2 separate regions of the Homo sapiens genome follow, and region 1 is linked to region 2. The links are contacts of gene promoters, found by promoter capture Hi-C in blood cells and fetal thymus (Javierre and others, 2016). All regions are on one chromosome and are shown on one strand. The core of a region is centred on a gene start or on the middle of the fragment in contact, and the rest is flanking DNA. Distances in the headings are between cores, read along the strand shown. Region 1 has its middle 12 kb from the start of CLPB. Region 2 holds the start of XNDC1N (XRCC1 N-terminal domain containing 1, N-terminal like).

Region 1 (4,056 bases), core at 1,080-3,579, 520 kb after region 2:
TCTGGGAAAAGTAAAGAAAGCAGCCATCTCAGGATGAATTAGAAAAAGGGGCCCCTAAGCAGTGTACATGTCCCAGGGAGCAGCATGCTGCCAGACTGCAGCCTCCACTTCTCCTATTGGTTTAGGCTTTTGAGTGGCACACGAACTGCATATCCAAACACAGCTGCCTGGGCAAAGGACTTGACCAAAGACCTCATGAGAAATGAAATATAAATCATATTTAAATATATGAAAATATGCTCAATACACCCATGACAAGAAACATACAAATTAAAACTATAGTGATCCATATCTTACAGCATATACAAAAATGAACTCAAAATGAATTATTGTCCTAAATGTAAAACCTAAGACTCCAAAATTTCTTGAAGAAAACATAGGAGAAAATCTTTGTGGCTTTGGATAAAGCAGATTTCTTAGATACAACATGAAAAACACAATGCATAAAAGAAAAAAAAAAAGATCAATTTGACTTCATCAACATTAGGAACTTTTGCTCCTCAAAAGCCACTGTTAAGAGAATGGATAAGCTGCAGAGTGGAGAAAATATTTGTAATTATACATCCAGTAAGGAACTTACATCAGAATATGAAAAGAATTCTCAAAACTCAATGATAAGAAAACCACCCAATTTTTATGTTGGAAAAAAGATTTGGAGAGATAACTTCTTACTGTCAAATAAGAACGCTAAAAAACACCCTCAATATCATTGCTCTTTAGAGAAATAAAAATTAAAACCATGAATTATATATGTATTAAAATGTCTAAGATTAAAAAGACTGGCCGTACCACATGACGATGTGGAGCAACTGGAACTCTCATATACTGCTGAAGGGGAATGTGAAATGGTACAACCACTTTTGAAAACAATTTGGCAGTTTCTTTAGAGGTTAAACAAGCATGTACCATATGATCCAGTCATTCCAACTTTTAGATTTATTATCCAAGGAAAACAAAAACATATGCTCACACAAAGACTTGTACATGAATGTTCATAGCAACTTTGTAAAAGCTACAAACTAAAAATATTACCAAAACACCAGGGGTTTGGTCTAGGTCCAGGGAGGGTCCTGCTTCTTCCATATACTAGAGGTTTGGTCTAGGTCAAGGGTTTGGTCTAGGTCAGGGGTGTGGCTTAGGTCAGGCCTGCTGCTCCCCTTTCTTGGTGCTACAGCCTAGAAGATGGGAGCTCAGTCTCAAATCCATCTCCCTGACTGATTAAAACTAGGGGTTTATACATCAGGGAAGAAATGTAACAATGTGTAAAAAAACAGGAACTAGGGAGGGGCAAAGGAAGCAATCATAATGAATGAGGGGTTGTCATCTGGTGCTGTGATCCATTGAGTTTCAGTTCTTTGATACTTTTTCCAGAGGCCTGAAGGTTGTTTCCTGAGGAAGGAACTCAGATAAAACAAATATAAATTTCAAGCTTTAAGATCAGGAGGGTCAATTTCTATGTTTATCAAAAAGAACCATCTTTGGGACTATTGGATTGGTTTCAAAAACAACCTAAACTTCTATCAATACATAAAAGGATAAACAAATTGTGGTATATCCATACAATGGAGTGTGACTCAGCAATAAAAAGGAACTATTGATATGCACAATGACATGGATGAACCTCAAGATATTAATGCTGAATGAAGCAAGTCAGTTCTACAAATAAATAAGCAAGCAAGCAAACACAGACTACACATTGTATTATCCAATTTTATAAGATTCTAGAAAATAAAAGCAAATACTGTATATAGTAACATAAAGCAGAACAGTGATTGCATGGGGATGATAGGATTACAGGGGTAGTGGGAGGAAGGGTTTACAAAGGGGCACAAGAAACTTTTGGAAGTGATGGATATAGTCATCTTGATTGTGGTGATGGTTTCAGAGGGGTACATATGTCAAAATTCATCAAATTTACACTTTAAACGTGAAATTTACTGTATGTCAGTTATACTTCAATAAAGCTGTTTCAAAAAGCTATAATGAGATATAGTTCACCTCAGACTGGCATATATACTGCATGTATTATTACGTATTATATATGTGTGTATATATATATATATATATATAAAAAAAACTGCGTGGCAAGTTTGTAAAGAAAAAACACTCATATTGTTGCTGGAAATGTAAATAGGTACAACTTCAATGGAGGGCTAATTGATAATATCAAAATATTGGAATTTAAAATCTAGATATACTTGCAGGTGTATAAAATGAGGAATGGTTTGAGATATTTGTAAGAGAAAGAGATGAGAAGCCATCTGAATGTCCATCACTGGGACATTGGTCAAATACATTAAAGCTAAACAATGGAATATTTTTTTAAACAGGGTAACACTGTTTTAATATGGAATGCACCGAGATATTTTAGGTACAAAAAAGTTCAAGGCGCAGAACAGTTGTATACAACCACTGGTGTTATTTGAAATATATATCTACTTGGCCAGGCGCAGTGGCTCATGCCTATAATCCCAGCACTTTGGGAGGCCGAGGCGGGCGGATCATGAGGTCAGGAGATCGAGACCATCCTGGCTAACACAGTGAAACCCCGTCTCTACTAAAAATACAAAAAAAAAACAAAAATTAGCCGGGCGTGGTGGCCGGTGCCTGTAGTCCCAGCTGCTCGGGAGGCTGAAGCAGGAGAATGGCATGAACCTGGGAGGTGGAGCTTGCAGTGAGCCGAGATCACGCCACTGCACTCCAGCCTGGGCTACAGAGCGAGACTCCGTCTCAACAAAAAAAAAAAAAAAAAAAAAAAAAAGAAATATACATCTACTTATGTGGTTTTATACCTAGGATATCCCTAGAAGGATATCCATCCCATGTGTATAATAAAAATTGTTGCCCATGGGTTGGGCAAAGTGGGGCTGGAGGAAAAGGGACAGAAGTAGGGAGGGAAGAAGAGTTTACTTTCCACTGTATACTTGAATTCTGTTCTATATGTACATATTACATATTCAATCCAATCAACCAATCCCTATTATTTCTATATCAATATTAACTTTAAACTACTTCTGCCATCAGGTAGAGGGAGTGCTTTTAATTTCATCCAGACTGCCACATTTTTTCTCAAGTAGAGACACTGACATCTTGTGGGCTTTTGGGATAATGCAGTGAAATAGCATTAAAATCAGCATATTCACCATTCCATTCCATTCCACTCCACTCCATTCTTCTCAACAAATTATTTGGCATTCAATGCCTATGCTGGGCTTTTGTCCAACTCTCTAAAGCTTACAAAGTTTCAATAATATTCAGCCTCATTTATTGAGCACCTGTAAGGCATGGGTTACTGAAACTGTAGTCATGAAGAAGCCATGGAGCTCTGGAGGGGCATGCAGACAATAGGCCATGTCAGCAGAGAGTGGTGAGTGCCACGATTGAGATAATTCTGGTGTCCCTGGGAGCACATAGCAAGCCGAGTGGTCAGAGAAGGCTTCCTGAAGGAAGTGACATCTAAGCTGAGCTCTGCAGGAGGAGCTAGAATTGACCAGACGAAAGGGATTACAGTAGCTGATGTAGGGTGGGGCACTTGGAGAATAGGGTCACTGTAGGTAAAGGGAACCCTACGGGCAAATGAGCAGAGGCAAGAGTGCAATTCTTTTTTTTTTTTTTTTTTTTTTTGGCAATGCATGTTTGAGGAACTGAGTGTTCAGTGTGGATTAAGTGTAGAGTGGGAGGGGCTAAGAGGGGATAATGAGGCTGAACCAGAGGGGTTAAGTAACTTACTAGGTTCTCCCAGCAAGTACTTAGTGCACCAAGAATTTGAACCCAGGGCTAAATGACTTAACCATTTTCTCTTATACTCATCATGAAGACTTTGCTCCACGAGCCTTTACTAGACCCCATGCCTACTGCCACTCTGCTTCTTCCAACTGGGCACAAAGCTTAGCCAACTGCTTTCCCTCTCTTGCTCCTTATTTCCCTCTCCTTCCTTCCTTCCACATTGCTTGTTTTCTGCAGCCTTGGTGCTAGGGAGAAGACAGAGAAGGCACTTTGGGTCAGGAGGTGATAATTCAGATCTCAGAGGAACTGTCCACTCTGCTCATGTTGATA
Region 2 (3,709 bases), core at 732-3,231:
TACCTAGGCTGGGCGTGGTGGCTCACACCTGTAATCCCAGCATTTTGGGAGGTTGACGTGGGTGGATCACTTGAGGTCAGGAGTTTGAGACCAGCCTGGCCAACATGGTGAAACCCTGTCTCTACTCAAAATACAAAAATTAGCTGGGTGTGGTGGCACATGCCTGTAATCCCAGCTACTGAGGAGGCTGAGGCAGGAGAATCACTTGAACCCGGGAGGCAAAGGTTGCAGTGAGCCAAGATCACCCCTCTGTACTCCAGCCTGGGTGACAAAGTGAGATTCTGTCTCAAAAAATGAAATAAAATAAAATAAAATAAAATAAAATAAAATAAAAGACAAATAATTATACCTAAAAGGCTGGGTACAGTGGCTCACGCCTGTAATCTCAACACTTTGGGAGGCGGAGGCTCAGGAGGATTGCTTGAACCCAGGAGTTCAAGACCAGCAACATAGTGGGACCCCATCTCCACAAAATATTTTTAAAAATTAGCCAGGTGTGGTGGCACATGCCTATAGTCCCAGGTACTCACAAGGTTGAGGTGGGAGAATTGCTTGAGCCTGGGAGATGAGACTACAGTGAGCAGTTATCACGCCACTGCACTCCAGCCTGGGCGACAGAGCCGGACCCTGTATCACTCAGGCTGGGCACAGTGGTTCACACCTGTAATCCCAGCACTTTGGGAGGCCGAGGCGGGTGGATCACTTAAGGTCAGGAGTTCGAGACCATGGCCATGACCCCATCTCTGCTAAAAATATGAAATTTCCCCAGGCGTGGTGGCGCGTACGTAGTCCCAGCTATTTGGGAGGCTGAGACATGAGAATCGTTTGAACCCAGTAGGCGGAGGCTGCAGTGAGCCCAGATTGAACCAGTGCATTCCAGCCTTGGTAACACAGCGAGACACCGTTTCAAAGAAAAAAAAAAAGCACTCAGATTAAAAAACAAAATGAAACACAATACAATACTATATAGTCATGGCTACATATAATTATTAAAAATGGACTGGGAGAACACAAGCTAATTCTAATTCATAATAGTTGCTTCTGGAGAGGATGAGAGGGTAATAGGCTTGAGAGTAGAAAAAACAGGTAAGTTTAACTTTTATTGTATTATCTAGCTTTTAAAAAATAAGCAAATAAATCATAATGCCAGTAGTCAATTTAGGGTGATGGGTGTACAGTATTTACAATATTCTCCGTATTAAGTGTCACAAAATAAAAATGATTATTTTTAAGTAAATGGGATGCCTGTGGATGATGTAGATAATTCCCTGTAATTTTCTGTTGGTCCCAATGTAAAGCTGACTTTTCTAGACGTTCTGTGGGCTCACAGGCCATCCTAGTTCCATTCACCAGACAGATCCAGGCGGACGCCCAGAGGCGTGTGAGCTGGGGCTACAGGCTTGCAAGGTATCGAGTTCACCGGCTGCTGAAAAATCAGTTATGAAGGTATACGTAGGGGTGGGACAGTGAATGGTGTATAAAAAGGAGGGTAAGGCAGAAGCTGGGGCCGCAGGATGTGGGTTAGAAAAGTGTGCCGAGGTGTGTGAACTGGCATGACAGCCTAAGTAAGACGCGGAATGTGGGTGCCCTGGAGGTCCCGCAAGGCTCTTCAGCTCTCAGTTTCGGGAGCTCAAGCCGCACCGCTGCTTTCACAGCTCATCGGGAACAGGCTGCTCAGTTCATTTCCTTGATGGCCACCCTCCTCCCTCTCGGCCACTCCCCTCCCCATCAACAAATCCCAACGCCCCTCACCCGGGACCGTGGACCTCGAGGAGCCACCGTTGCCTCGGATCTCGGACCACCAAACCTATTCTCCCGCCAATTCGGCCTTCTGACCTTCGCCTTCTGACCCCGAGAGCTACTCTTCCGTCTTCCGTAGCACAGGAATGCGTTCTGGGGCTTCAAGAAGCTGCTGTTTTTGAAAATGAGTCCTACCGAGGCAAGATGGCAGGTGCTGCAGCCAGGAAAATACATTTCCGTGTGTTTTAATATTTATTTTCACTCACTACAACTCTTTCGTGGAGGGAGCGGAATTTAAACTTCCGGGTCAGCCTCAGTGCAGCTTGGGAAACGTAGTTCCTAGTCCCCACGTCTCGCTCCTTGGAGCCCAGACTGAGGGAGCGTCGCGAAAGTTGCCCGTTTTGGAACGCTCCCATTTGGCTCTCCAAAGGGAAGAATTGGTTAAATAGTTGCACTGAAAATAATGCGATTCAAATTTCTCATTTTCCAAGAACGCTCCCTTGCTGAAGCTTGCAAGGGCACGGTACTCCCCTCTCCTTGACCCTGAAACGTGCAGCAAGTAGATAACCTCCTGATCCCTGACAGTCTCCGCCTGTGTTGATGCCCCGCCCCCTCTGCTGGAGTCCGAGCCGCCGATTGGCTAGGAGCACTTGAGCAGCGGAAGCAGCTGGCTCGCGCGGGGACTGCGGTGAGGGGGCGAGCCGTGAAGATGGCGGCAGTGGTGGAGGTGGAGGTTGGAGGTGGTGCTGCTGGGGAACGGGAGCTGGATGAGGTAAGCGGAGTTGAGAGACGAGGAGAGACTCAACCTGAGACTGAGGGGAGGGGCAGTGAGGTATCGGGAGGTGGGGGTCTTAGGAGAGAAGGGAAAGATCCTGAGAGGGAAGGAGCTGACTAGGGGGCGGGTGCGTGGAGAGCGAAGTCAGAGGCACTCCTGACTTGGGGACTCCGAGGCGGCCTTGGGAGTAGAAGACTTGCATTAGCCTCAAGGGTGAAGATGGAGGACAGAGAGAGAGGTCGGAGGGGTGGGGGTGTTAAGATTTTGTGATTACTAGCTGGGTGTCTTAGGGTAGGACCGAAGGGCTAAGAGGTAGTTTGAGTTGGAGGGACGTGAATTTCTTCAGGGGAAGGCTGGGCTTCTACTGTGGGAGAGGACTCTGTCTAAGCCTAGGGTGGGGGTTGGGGACACAGACCGGGAAAGAGTGCTAATCCACTAGTAGTATAGCTTTGAGTTATCTTAAAGTTGGAACTGTTTTATTTATCGTTCCATTCTAAGACTTTGTATCTAATGCATGCTCAGTAAAGTTTTGGCCAACGAATGAAGGAACAAGTGGATGAATAAATGATTGTATGCCGGAATTCATGCATTTATTCACTTAATAAACATTATGACTTTTGCTCCGGGTTCTGGGCCAGGTGCTAGGGAGACAAGGGGCCCCTCCGTTGAAGAGCCCACAGTCTAGTGGTGGGAGACAGACAAGAAGACTAGTCATTGCATTAGAGATATAATGGTGGCACTGAGAAGTGTGCAACATTTCAGCTTGGGATAGGGAAGGCTTCCCGGAGTTGCTGAGTTTTAAACGATAAATAAGTGTCTCTCTCTTCTTCTGGATTTATGAGTTCCTTGAAGGTGAGCTCCTTGAGATTGTATGTTCCCTTTACCTATCTAATAGGCATTTAAAGACTGGTGTATTAAAATACCAGTGGTCCTTGAAGGAATCACTAGGAGGAAGGAGATGTTGAGTGTGAAAGGAATGAAGGGACAGGGCAGAGAAGCAGAGACAGAGGTGAAAAGATTCTGAAGCCATGGAGACATTGATAGCTAGTGGTGTTTGTGATCTTGCACATGCCAGCATATGGGCAAAGACATCACAGGAATAGGAGGAAGGGGATTGGTTGTCAGAGATAGAACCAGTGAGATCTCTGAGGGGTCAGAATCTTAGAGGCCCCTTGCTGTGTGTTGGGTGTGGGA

Evidence for each region. Contacts are between HindIII fragments. The CHiCAGO score rates a contact against its expected background, and 5 or more counts as called.
Region 1: a contact is called between a fragment that was not itself captured here and the fragment with the promoter of XNDC1N in region 2, in 1 of 17 cell types (fetal thymus). The highest score is 5.1, in fetal thymus.

The regions. Positions count from the first base shown.
Region 1 is chr11:72,444,052-72,448,107 of GRCh38, forward strand. No RefSeq gene overlaps it. Among named protein-coding and RNA genes, the nearest start is that of CLPB, 12 kb to the left of the region's middle. The HindIII fragment of the contact is 1,804 bases long and covers 1,428-3,231 here.
Region 2 is chr11:71,926,613-71,930,321 of GRCh38, forward strand. It overlaps XNDC1N (XRCC1 N-terminal domain containing 1, N-terminal like), which reads right to left and starts at 1,982. Exons shown (of 6, transcript NM_001375847.2): 1 at 1,753-1,982. It overlaps RNF121 (ring finger protein 121), which reads left to right and starts at 2,434. Exons shown (of 9, transcript NM_018320.5): 1 at 2,434-2,512. The coding sequence starts at 2,450. It overlaps XNDC1N-ZNF705EP-ALG1L9P (XNDC1N-ZNF705EP-ALG1L9P readthrough), which reads right to left and starts at 1,982. Exons shown (of 11, transcript NR_172895.1): 1 at 1,753-1,982. RefSeq lists an enhancer at 1,815-2,124. The HindIII fragment of the contact is 13,024 bases long and covers 1-2,247 here.